Linked DNA regions of Homo sapiens: region 1 is linked to region 2. Evidence: promoter capture Hi-C in 16 types of primary human blood cells and fetal thymus (Javierre and others, 2016). All regions are on one chromosome and are shown on one strand. The core of a region is centred on a gene start or on the middle of the fragment in contact, and the rest is flanking DNA. Distances in the headings are between cores, read along the strand shown.

Region 1 (6,481 bases), core at 948-3,447, 490 kb before region 2:
CTACAGCTCAGGTCTCCAACTACCAGATAGGGAGTAAAAAACAGTTTGATTTTATTCACCTCAAGTCTAAACACGGTGGAAAAAAAACTGGTCTAGAGATGGAAACTATATTTCATGGGGGTTTATTAAACAGAGAAAGAGGAGAATCTTTCACAATTTCACAGTGCTTTCTCATTGAAATAAAGACATGATCAGGAAAAGTCACCCTTATAGGCAAGCTATCACCTCCCTAAGTAGGGGAGGCACCAAAATCTCCAGAGAATCCTGAGACCACTTGCACGAGTTGAATTATTTTTTAAAATAAACTTATGCTTAAATATGCTAGGTCTCAATTTCTATAAATAAGGTAAAAAATAGTATATTTCAGAAGTTTTAATAGTTCTTTGTAGAGAGAGAACATTTTACCATGTACATAATTCACAAGGGTATAAAGGTTTCCCAATGTAAAGTTCCTTTTACCCTTCAACTGTAACCCATAGCATCTGCCCAAATACTGCTCATTTTTCACTTTCTACTATATGTCTCTTTCCTGCCAACTGAGGTAGTTGTCACTTAGGACAGTTTAAGGCTCTGGAAAACACTGGTGGAAATAATCAACTGCCCACCTGGAGGGCAGTCTCAGAGCTGACCCTTTGGAAGTCTGCAATGGAGCTAGGCCTTTCAAAATTACCACGCTAAATGGCTGGTCTAAAGGAGTCATTACGGCTTTTTAAAAAATCATCTGCCTTTTTCCATCATCTTGGTGAGCCAGTAAGTCTGGTGCTGTGCGCTTGCCATGACCATCTATCTTCCTGGCTAAGGTAATTACAGACTTTTCCAGGGTATAAGGGTGAAGACCACAAAGAAAAAGAACCAAGTAAATGACAGACACTTGAGAATTTGCTTCCTCACAGATGACATTGCTGGTTTATAAGGGGTACTTTGCAATGGCAAAAGAATCTGAAACTAATGCTACTGCAATAACAGGCAGCATACATCTCAGGTCAGAAACGCAATCATAAATAAGTGTAAGTTCATGGAAACTTGACAGCTGAATGAGCACCCAGAGGCATGAAGATAACCTGGAGCCTATTTCCTGGCAATGCAAATTGTGGCTGCTGCATAACTACAAATTGTGTATCAAGAAACTACATAGTTTCAAGGCTTAAAAATTACCCAGATTTGGGGGAGTATGGGTGGTGAGAAAAGGCTGAAAGGAATGGACAGAGCATGTAGACAAAGGAAGGGAAAGGAAAAGGAGACAGTTTCCTGATTTCATAGCAACTCAAAGATAACATGACCCAATGACAGGAAAATGGAGAACGTATAAAAAGCATCCAAATCCCCTAAACAAGATGACTTCTCCTAGCTAGCAGGAATAATGCTACTCTGAACATACATAGTTCACAGGTAAGGGAACTGACCCTTCCTGAAAGGGCAAAGGCAGGGTAAGGAAGAATGGGAAGAGAAGAATACAAATGTTTTTTAAGATGGAATTGAAAGTTGAATATAATAAAAAGCCCAGTACATCTCACCTGCAGAAGAGCCTACAGGCATGTTCCTAAAGGCAAATAGGACTTTCTATCATATGTATGAGAACTAAATCAAAGCTTAAAACAACAGCTCCTGGGGCTTTAATGGATAATCCATATTAATAAATATGTAGGGGCCTAGGGGGTGTGTCACTCTGGAGCACTTGCTGGTTCTGGAACATGAGTTTGTTATGTTTTTTAAAAGACATTCATTTAAAAAACAAAACAATAAAAATCTATTTTCCTCCCAAAACAGTTAAATCAATAATTATTCTAAAGTCACTGAAATAAAAGCTGGAGTGAAGGAGGCTCAGATTTGTGGATTTCTCTCTGGAAGTTGCAGCCTATAGTCTAAAAGCATTCCTGCACTTAACAACAGTTCTTACTTTGGAGAGCCAGCCAGTGACAGAAATGCCATGATTGAATCAACTTTCAAGAAGGAGCTAGAATGCCATGCTAGCTGTGGCCATCCAATTTCTCTGGAAACATAAAAGTGGGCTGTTAGCTTAACCAATGGGAAGTGAACTACCCAGCATTCACTACTTTATCCACTCTCCTTCCTCAGGGATCCCATAGAGACCTCCCATTTCCAAAGGGAGGCCTTTTTAGGCCTCTTATTTCAGTAGGAGAATTTCTACCCTATCTATCTCACTCTGTTTCAAAGGGTTGAAAGCAATTGCACAACACATGCAACATGGACCAAGGCACCAAGCCAGTCCACGTAAAGATAACTGACCACTACCTAGGTTAGAAAGTTGTTCTGTGTGATAGCAGGACACCGAGAATATGAGTCCTCCTCCTCAGAGGATGCTTCCTCATAGATTTCATCCTGGGCAATAATGCTCCCTAATCCATACTCCTGCTCATGGACAGAAACTTCATTTGGCGTGAGGTGGGAAGAGCCTTCCACAAAGTCAGCAAATCTGGAAAAGAGAAGATAATACTCGTTAGAAATATCCTTCTGTCCTTTCTGGTCTTCTTTCAAAATAAGAACAAATTAAAGCCCTCGATATGCTCGCAACTCAAATTATATTAAGTCTAGCCAACATCCTTGTCCTTACTCTGGCAGGTAAGTAGACTAAAGCATGAAGTTAAGGAGAAAAGGAAAGCTGGGATCATAGGCTAATACCCCTGCAACTCCATCCTGCTTAATAAGCACTTGCCTATCCTTTCTAATTATGAAAGTGCCAAGGTTCCTTTAGTCATCTGTAATCCTGATAAGAGAAGATTAAGGGGCATTACAGTTATTCACGTTTATGGCCCTGTAAACTTTATGCCATCATGATTCCAAATTGAAGCTTCACATACTCATTGGTACATTTGCCCCCAACTAAAAAGTGGGTAGGGGGGAACCCTACCAACTCAGACAGCAATGCAAAACTTTCAGAAGGGAAACTTAATATGGTACTGGAGTCTTCCCATCTTAATGCTACAATCAAAGCTAGAGTAGATAGTTCCCTGAGGAAACAGGTTACTGCTTAATGTGTGATTATATATCCACCCTTCTCTTGACTACTTGAAGATTAACAGGAAAACAAAGGTCACAAGTGCACGATTCTCTAGAAGTATGATCTCTGGTAGAACTCAAGGTCACAATTACCCTGATAGATGCTTGGTATATCTGGCCGAGTTTACCTTTTTGGAGACTGGATTCGAGAAACAGTCTTCCAAGCAGAGCAGTCTGGACTGTTACAAAATTCTCGGAGCTCCTCTAAAGCCTTTCGGGTTTCTACCTCTCCTTGTATCCGATATTCTTCTTCTGTCAGGAGACGAGGGGGAACAGGCTTTTCTGCTCCCTTACACACCTTTCTGTGCTCACCAAAATAACATTATGAATCATTAATCAGTAATCTATATCCATCCTTACTTCTAGCTCCCTTCAGTGGGCCAAGAATACAGCAGACAGCCTGAACATTAAGAGTCATCACTCCTAAAAATTCCATGGACATCTTTAGTTATAATGAACTCCTGATACATTAGACTATGAGTGACAATTCATAGGCGACAGAGCGAGACTCCATCTCAAAAAAAAAGTGATATAATTTGCACCACCTTGTGGTAACAGGAACACATGACATTTTACTAGACCTTTTTATTTTATATAAAATGACTAGAATAAAAATATAAAAATGCCTATAGAAAGTAAAAAATTATAGTCAATATTATTCACTAATGTGAACAAACTCACTTTATTTTCCAATAAATGATAAAATACTTACTTATTTTCTAGTAGATGGGAAAATAACAGAAAATCATGGTATAAGACTGTGGTTCTAGCCAGGCACAGTGGCTCACGCCTATAATCCCAGCACTTTGGGAGGCCAAGGCAGGCAGATCACCTGAGGTCAGGAGTTGGAGATCAACCTGACCAACACAGAGGAACCCCATCTCTACTAAAAATACAAAATTAGCCAGGCATGGTGGTGCATACCTGTAATCCCAGCTATTCGGGAGGCTGAGGCAGGACAATCGCTTGAACCAGGGAGGCGGAGGTTGCAGTGAGCCGAGATCATGCCATTGCACTCCAGCCTGGGCAACAAGAGCAAAACTCCATCTCAAAAAAAAAAAAAAACAAAAAAAAACGCCGGGCAAGGTGGCTCACACCTGTAATCCCAGCACTTTGGGAGGCCAAGGTGGGCAGATCACAAGGTCAAGATTGAGACTATCCTGGCCAACATAGTGAAACGCCATCTCTACTATAAAAATGCAAAAATTAGCTGGGCATGGTGGCATGTACCTGTAACCCCAGCTACTCAGGAGGCTGAGGCAGGAGAATCGCTTAAACCCAGGAGGCAGAGGTTGCGGTGAGCTGAGATAGCACCACTGCACTCCAGCCTGGTGACAGAGCAAGACTCCATCTCAAAAAAAAAAGATTGTGGTCCAGTAACTTGGTTTCCCAAACTGAAAGCATCACCTTGACTATCTATAATAGACAACTTCAGGACCTAGTAACATTCCATATTTATTATGCAAGGTGACAAAACATGCTATGAATTACATCTTAAAATAAGACTAAGACCTCCAGAGCAATCTGAAAGCCACTGAGAAATAGTCTGAAATGGGCTGGGTGAGGTGGCTCACGCCTATAATCCTAGCACTTTGTGGGGCTGAGGTGGGCAAATCACCTGAGGTCAGGAGTTTGAGACCACCCTGGCCAACATGGTGAAACCACATCTCTATTAAAAATACAAAAATTAGCCAGGCATAGTGGCGCCCACCCGTAGTCCCAACTATTCGGGAGGCTGAGGCAGAAGAATCACTTGAACCCGGGAGGTGGAGGCTGCAGTGAGCCGAGATCACGCCATTGTGCTCCAGCCTGGGTGACAGAGAGAGACTCTGTCTCAAAAAAAAAATCTGAACCCAGGAGACCTCAATGAGCATACGGTATAAAAGCGATACAATTTGTGGCGGGGCGCAGTGGCTCATGTCTGTAATCCCAGCACTTTGTAATCCAAGCACTTTGGGAGCTCCTCAGCACTTTATGAACTCCTGACATTTGAGGTCAGGAGTTCAAGACCAGCCTGGTCAACATGGGGAACCCTACTAAAAATATAAAAATTAGCTGAATGTGGTGGCGCATGCCTGTAATCCCAGCTACTCAGGAGGCTGAGGCAGAAGAATCGTTTGAACCCGGGAGGTGGAGGTTGCAGTGAGCCGAGATCACGCCACTGCACTCCAGCCTGGGCGACAGAGCGAGACTCCATCTCAAAAAAACAGTGATAGAATTTGCACCACCTTGTGGTAACAGGAACACATGACATTTTACTAGACATTTTATATAAAATGACTAGAATAAAAATATAAAAATTCCTATAGAAAGTAAAAAAAAAAAAATAGACTCGGGAAGGAACAAAAGTGGAAGTACAATACAATGACTTTTCATTAACAAAGAAGCTCCCAGGTCAACACCTCTGTATCCTCTTGCTGCAACTGCATCCCACAATGTACCTGTCAATATTAAGTTACATTGCCTTTCAGTCACCTGCAGGTGATGTACAGCCACTGAATAGGGTGTTCCAGGTTCTTAGTACAAAGAGCAATGATGATAATGGCAAGGGCAATATGTGGTATCTGGATGCCAGAATACATGAAACACAGGCCCATCAGCTGCAAGGTCCAGGTCAGCAGGTTGATACTTCGTTCATTCTCCAAGGGCCCATACTTGTAACATACTGCAAAACTCATGAATCCAACTGTGAGGACATAACCTATGAGAAGAGTTATCAGAAGACATTCTTTTTCATCTATACTTGGTAAAAATAATTTGTGTGGGAAGCAGTAGTTAATTTACTATATAGCACCAATTGAACTAGGAAATCAGATTTTTACTTAATTTTTCACACTTTTTTCTTAGAATATATTTCTCTAAGTTTCTATCCTTTCTGCTGTCCCAAATTTATTTGGTTCAAACAGAACATTAAAGGTACATGTTGAACAACCCTGAAATAGACTATTTTAAAAAACCAATATACAGAAATCCAGATTAATCACCCTTCAAAGGATAACTCAAAGGTTACTATCTATATGACCAAGGATTTTTACTTTGTAAATAAAATCTACAGCAGTTCATTCAGAAATGAAGGAGAAAAAAATTAACTGCGGAGTCTTTTACTTAAGGTCCCCAAGTATATTTAAAATATGATTCCATTAATAAAGTCAACTTACAGCTTTTCAGAAAGATGTTTATTGTGTAAAGAAAGGTATATTTATAAATACCAATAAATGAACATCTTCGCCTTAACAGCACCATTCTAATTTAAGAGAAGGTGATAATTGTAGAGGGATTAGAAATAAGTGAAAAACTATGATTTTTAAAAGTTTAAAAAAATGACATGAACTATTAAATCCCATAAGCAGGCAAAATCTTTTCATGATCAAATTAACTGAAACAGCCTATAAACGTACAAAAGGAAAGCAAAACCGACAACACTTACTTAAAAGATACTGCCAGTAACACCTCCAGATCTCTT
Region 2 (6,688 bases), core at 2,183-4,682:
TTCAGCTCTTCTTGTATTTGCCATTCAGCTCATATGCACTTCTATACTGGCATCCTGGGCAACATGCCACAGGAAATGAACACTCACAGTATCCTCTCCTCATCAGCCACCCCACTAGATGCTACTAAAATAGGCTGTTCAGGCTCTGGGGGAGAAACAGCCAATCAGAGCTGCACAGTCAGGTTCTTCCACACCTGGAATGGGTGTCATCTCCTTTTTATTAAGAGATATCCCAGTATCTTCAAAAGGGAATGACAATATGTATTTTTTTGTTTAGAAAGAGGATTACTGTGAAACTACCTGTTTGTATCACAGCGACAAAAGGACTGAGTTCTATTCATTATCTCACCATGAAGGGCAGAAGCCTAGGCCTAAGTTGAACAGTCTGAACTGTGGTAGTGCAGTAAAGTTCTCAGCATACAGCTGTCTCTTGGCAACTGTGGGAGACTGGTTCCAGGACCTCCCTTGATACCAAAATCTGCATATGTTCCCATCTTCTATATAAATTGGCATAGTAACTGCATATAACCTACCTACACCCTCCTGTATACTTTGAATCATCTCTAGATTACTTAAAATACCTAGTACAATGTAAATGCTATGTAAATAGTTGTTATATTGTATTTTTAAATTTTGTTTTTTTTTTTATTGTTGTACTGGTTTTTTTTTTTTTGAGATGGAGTCTTGCTCTGTCACCCAGGCTGGGGTGCAGTGGCGCAATCTCGGCTCACTGCAACCTCCACCTCCCAGGTTCAAGCAATTCTCCTGCCTCAGCCTCCACAGTAGCTGGGACTATAAGCGCTCGCCACCACGCCTTGCTAATTTTTATATTTTTTAGTAGAGACGGGGTCTCAAACTCCTGGCCTCAAATGATCCACCTGCCTCAGCCTCCCAAAGTGCTGGGATTACAGGCATGAATCACCACACTGGGCCTATTTTTTATTTTTAAAAAATATTTTCCATTTGTGATTGGTTGAATCCATGGGTTTGGAACCCATAAATACAGAGAACCGATTGTATACACTCCTATTCTGTGAGGACAGAGGCAGCTTCCTATAAGATGCCTCTTGGAGTGACAGGTGCACACCCAGGTCCTTGAGCAACAACATCATCTGCATTATCTCCAAGATACTCAAGCTTAGGGGATAGATTGGCATGCCAGCAAATACAGAAGCCACAAGGAACACACCACTGGGAGAAGGGACAGAGAAGGTGTTTCCCACAATGTAAGAACCACTTCCACATGGGGGAGTCAAATAAGAAATAAGTGAGTACGCCAAGCCACACATTGTAAGCCAGCAGTCAGCATTCCCCAGAATTAACCAGCCCCACAGACATAGCCACAGGACTTACAGACAAGCATACTGAGCCTGCATATTGCAATGACTCTTGGACACATCTTTACTGAGAACTCACATCATCAATGTGATCCCAGCCCAGCTGTCTTCAGAAATAATAGAACCTAAAACACATCCTATAAACACACCTCTTGGCACTTAAACAGAGTTTTTACTATGTTGATTTCCATTCACTCAATTTTTTTTTCCTTCTATATGTTTCCTATATGTATCCTAATTCCCCATTAGTCTGGGGCTCATTGGGGGCAGAGACATTTCTTCCTCTGCATTGCACAAAAAAAACCACAGAATGAACACACTCAATAAACCATACTAAATGTTTCCCCTCACAGTTAAAATGTATCCGTACCTAATTACTCCATCCTCAGAATTCTCGGATCTAAAAATGCAACCACAGTCTCACATCCGCTGATGTGAAATATTTACATTCTTCCTCAAATTTGTTTTGCTCTAAAATCTTGGAATCACTTTCTTAATTCCTTGCCCAATGGATACTGGATATTCATATGGAAAAAGTATTTCTCCATATTTCAAAGTCTAGTTCTTGGTAGCAGTTTATTACAAGTGCCCAGGCTTCATGATTCATTTCCATGGGTTAGAACCCAGGGGCCTAAGTCACTAGCTCCAAACCTGTTTTGAGATATTTCAATTTTATTTAAAAGGCCCAAGAATCAGGGCTTTGCAAACAGATGTTGTTAGCTGTAATTCCGCTGACTTGACTCTCCCTCCTGCCATTGCTCATTGGTGGCTGCAAGCCCAGCAAGGTCTTTGCAAGCCCTGCAACCTATATACCACCCAGGCTGGGGTTGGCATACCCGCTTATTGCTGTAGCTCCCCCGAGAAAGGGAAGGACCTGTCTAGGGGAGAAAGGTCAGAGTCCGGAGGAGTCTGTGGCAGCACACATTCTTACCGCATCGAACTCCGCTTGATCATCCTCAGGTAGGTCGCTAGTTTCATAAACATCTGGCTCATTCCTGGCCTGCAGGTAGAAGCAGTGACCACCCAACCTCACTACCCAGCATCCAACAACACCCCTTCCCCCACTCCATTTGAATAAGCTAACAGAGAAGGCGGGGTGTGATGTCAGGGTTCTGTCCTTTCTCCTCCACCTGCCCCGTGAGTCAACAGTATGTCAGTTCCCATGTCTCAAGGGGTAGGGATGACAGCGGAAACAATTGGGACCTGACAGTAAACGGTGAGTGTAAGTGATAGCAACGATGTTACCCTAAATCTAGAGGCGGGCAGGTCCTTGGCAATCACTATTGCCAAAGAAGGTGAAGGCTATCCTCCAATTAGGCCCCGTACACCACCACCCTGGCACAAGGATTGAGAGTGACTCAGGACCTTAGTACTCAAGGTCCTGTGTCCCAACCCTCACCTTGAGAAGCAGGCAGGGCAGCACAAAAGGAAGGTACACGCCAGGATTGTCATGGGAGTGGGGGCTGGGGGAGGGCATAGGTTCCCTCAAGGATAGAGCTCCCCATCTGGCACAAGAGGGTTCTGCCAGATGGCAGAACCTCTTCCTTGGCAGGATGAAGGCCATCGTTAAGTGGTCTGGTGTGTGTGTCTGGGGTAGCGATGGGGTCTTATGGAGAGATTTGGGGGGGACATGGGAGGCGTTGACACGGATGGTGGAAAAACTCAGGCACAAGAGGTCAGTACCCGGAGTCGATTTCTGGGCCGAGCTACCGGCGACTGCCGGAAAGGGGGCCTGGTGCGCCGTCCGGCGGCCCGGCCCAGTCGGGTCAGAAGAGTTCGGGGGGTGCTGAGGCCGATCGGAGAACGAGCGGCGGGAGCCCTTGGGCGGAGGATGGGCTGCAGGCGGGAGGGGTCGCGGGCTGGTTTCTGCTGGGGGTCCTTGGGAGGTCGGGGGCGCGGTCCTGGGGAGCCGGGGCCGGTCCTGTACTCACAATGCCGGGAAGGTCGGCGTATTTAGGGTCCGCCATGGCGGCGGCGAGACGGGCTGGGGGACCCGGGCCTCGGTGGAGCCGGGGCCGGTGTTCGGGTAGGGGAGAGGCTGGGTTCGGGTCCCGGGCTAAGGCGGCGGCAAAGGGAGCGGCAGATGAGCAGGAAGTCTCGCGACAGCAGTAGCACAGCAGAAGGGTAAAGCAAAAGTCGCGAGAACAGCCCTGCTGCCACACCCCTGGAGAGGCCGGGATTGGGGAGAACGAGGCCAGGGAATGAGGTAATGGCCAGGGGACGCCGCCTAGGATTGTGGGATGTGTAGTTTTGGTGTACTGGAGCTTGGGCGGGGAGCGACAATAACGAACCTTGGGGAGCTATTTCATACAGCCTTTTCTCTCACTTTTACAGCAAGTCAGTGAAAGAACATTTATAATTCCTGTTTGGGGCTCCCAGGAATAAAATGACTAGATTAAATGATACAGGTAGTCATACTGTGACACAGCCGGGGTTTCAAAAACAAGAAGTTTGCTTGATACTGTGTATTATAAAAACAAAATAAAAACAAGAAGTAAAATTTAGTAAACGCGTAGTGTATGTTAGGAATGAAAAAGTTAGGCAATCTTCTCAAGTAAGGGCTTTCAGATAATTTGAATTTCAGATAATAAGTAGGTGTGTGTGTGTGGTGTGTGGTGTGTGGGTATACTAACCCCCCAAAAATTAAGTATCTGAAATTCACATTTAACTGGGCATCCTGTTTTTGTTTTTTGTTTTTCAAATCTGGCAATTCTATCTGAAGTTCATAAGTAGGTAAGTGGTGTCTCCATGTCTGTCTGAACACTCTCTGGGCTCTTAACTACTTCGTTAATAGTTCTCAGACTTTTATTTATTTTTCAATTTTTTCAATTTTGTGGGTACACAGTAGGTGTATGTATTTATGGGACACATGAGATATTTTGATACAGGCATGCAATGTGAAATAAGCACATCATGGAGAAGAGGGTATCCATCCTCTCAAGCATTTATCCTTTAAGTTACAAATAATCCAATTACTCTTTAAGTTATTTTAAAATGTACAGTTGAGTTATTCTTGACTATAGTCACCCTATTGTGCCATCAAATAGTAGGTCTTATTATACTTTCTAATTTTTTGTACCTATTCACCAACCTTACCTTCCGTTCTCAGACTTTTAAATTTCATCGTTCAATAAAATTAAAACAACTACAAACCTTGAAGATTTGCCTTTTTATTTTATCAAGTAAGTATATTACAAATAGAAAACCTATTATTTACTGTCACCATCATTACTTGGTAGAAAAGCAAGAAGGACACACTCAGAATAAAAGATAGTCCTTTGAAACTTATCAAATCCATCTTTATATTAAAAAAAAACTCACCATTGTTCTTTTGGAGGTGAGGGCATACTCAGTGAACTTTTGTCTCTGACCAGTGACCCTCCATGGACTGGCATTTTGAAACCCCTTTACTAAAGATGCCACCTTGGAGCCCCTGGGGACCCAAGGATGGGATGTTTCCCAGGATGTTTCCTGAGCTTGCAGGATGCTGCAACACTTAGAAATTGTGCCAAACCAAGTGACTAGAGAGTTCCTGAGTTCGGAACTCGTTGTCTTTCTTTCTCCTGGCTCCTCCCCAAGCCTCTATCCCTTTCTCCATAGTCCTACAGCTTTCCTGTCCCATTCCTTATGTTGGACTCTTTTCTTTCAGTTCCCTTAAGATTCAAGGTAGGTTAGAGGTGTAGCCCCAATGTGGGAAACCCCCTGAGTTCTGAATAGTTAGGTCTTGTCTGGCCAGGCTATCAGCCTCTTACTTTTGTCCCATAGTGTCTTAAGTGACCTTAACCACTCACCAGACAGTTGCTGAGCAGAACTTTCCTTTCCTCCTCCTTCTCCCATCCACCCTGCCCTTCCTCTTTGCCTAGAACCTCAACTCCTGCAGTCCAACTCTCTGTTGGCCAGCAGAGGCCTGTGACATGGAGAAAAATCAATTTGGCCAGCTTCTTGGTGGTTCTTTCCAGGGGCTGCAGCAGGAGTCTGACCCAAAGGAAGGAAGGACAAGGAATCTCTGGGCTTGGCATTTCTTTCGTTTTTCTTCCCCCACACCTTTTTTTTTTTGGCCAGGGAAGGGGGCTGAAGTATTGGGACTCTATCCTCCAATGGTTACTGAGACAGAAAACACACACTCCCGTAGGTATCTGAATTTGCCTGAAACCCAAATGCCGGCTTTGCCTCAGACTTCAAAGTCTCTCTGGCCTTACCCATCCCCATCATTGCCCCTCCTTCACTGCTTTCTGACTCCCTTTCTCTTGCAAAGATGTTTCCCACCCATCTTCCTCCCATCCTCAGCCTAGGACACAAAAATAAGTATTGTATCTGCTTTTGAATTCCCATAACCCAGAATGGGAGTTTATCTTCCCTGAAACTGGGGACCTGGTGTGTACGTTGGGGAGACAGTATAGTGCACCTTTGGATGTGGAAGGGGAAGGGAGTAGCCAGAACCTCCCACGACACCCAACTTCATAGGAGTACAGGCAGGGGTCCCCCCAGAAAGCTGAGTGGGTTGGGAGTCCAGCTTCCGTGCATGTGGGGCATGGGATGGGCGTAGGGGGAGAATGAGAAGTGTGATCCCAGTTTGGAGAGAGGACTGTGACGGGTTGGGGGATGCCCTGGAATAAAGGGAGAGGGAGATCTGTTGACCCTTTTCGCTACACAGGCGACAGGCCCACCTCAGTCCCCTTATCCCTTCCAGGGGGTGGAGTCTGAGGGAGGGACAAACAGGTCGGGGGTATAGGGGTGGGATGCAGTGAGTTGGGTGGGGAAGGGTCGAGGGCAAGGTTATCTCCGAACGTTAGGGGTGGGGGAGGGAGGAGAGGAGCGGTGAGGTTCCACCCTTCGGGGGTCGACGTCGAGCCAGCGTCCCCAGTGGAGGGAGCCCCGCCCCCGCTCCTCCATCGCGGCCCCGCCCAGGCCCGCAGCGCGGCGCTGCAGCGCGAGGGGCGGAGAGGCAGAGAGCCCGAAAGGACCAGACGCCCAGGTCGCCCGCATCCCGCTGCCGCAGGAGAGAGACAGCGCGCCCCGGCCCTGCTCCCCAGGCTTCGCCCGGGCGCCCTCAACTCTGTCCCCAGAGACTGAGCACCTGTCCTCCGCCTCGGCCTCTGCTGAGAGCCCTCTCCTCTGGAGCACACACCACCCCTGCAGCCCAAGAAGAGTCCCAGCCCCACGCCGGCTACCACCATGGCGGAGACCAACAACGAATGTAGCATCAAGGTGCTCTGCCGATTCCGGCCCCTGAACCAGGCTGAGATTCTGCGGGGAGACAAGTTCATCCCCATTTTCCAAGGGGACGACAGCGTCGTTATTGGGGTGAGTGTCGCCCAGGAGGGAATTCGGGGAGGGGGCAGGTGGCTGAA

The links. Contacts are between HindIII fragments. The CHiCAGO score rates a contact against its expected background, and 5 or more counts as called.
Region 1: a fragment that was not itself captured here is called in contact with the fragment with the promoter of DCTN2 in region 2 in 1 of 17 cell types (neutrophils); the score reaches 5.3 in neutrophils.

What each region holds. Positions count from the first base shown.
Region 1 is chr12:57,057,626-57,064,106 of GRCh38, forward strand. NEMP1 (nuclear envelope integral membrane protein 1) reads right to left here. Exons shown (of 9, transcript NM_001130963.2): 6 at 6,446-6,481; 7 at 5,494-5,719; 8 at 3,147-3,320; 9 at 1-2,434. The coding sequence ends at 2,254. Among named protein-coding and RNA genes, the nearest start is that of MYO1A, 11 kb to the left of the region's middle. The HindIII fragment of the contact is 1,220 bases long and covers 1,588-2,807 here.
Region 2 is chr12:57,543,760-57,550,447 of GRCh38, forward strand. DCTN2 (dynactin subunit 2) reads right to left here and starts at 3,433. Exons shown (of 14, transcript NM_001261413.2): 1 at 3,269-3,433; 2 at 2,269-2,337. The coding sequence starts at 3,304. KIF5A (kinesin family member 5A) reads left to right here and starts at 6,285. Exons shown (of 29, transcript NM_004984.4): 1 at 6,285-6,641. The coding sequence starts at 6,513. RefSeq lists enhancers at 3,562-3,701, 6,620-6,688 and a silencer at 6,012-6,351. The HindIII fragment of the contact is 9,827 bases long and covers 1,136-6,688 here.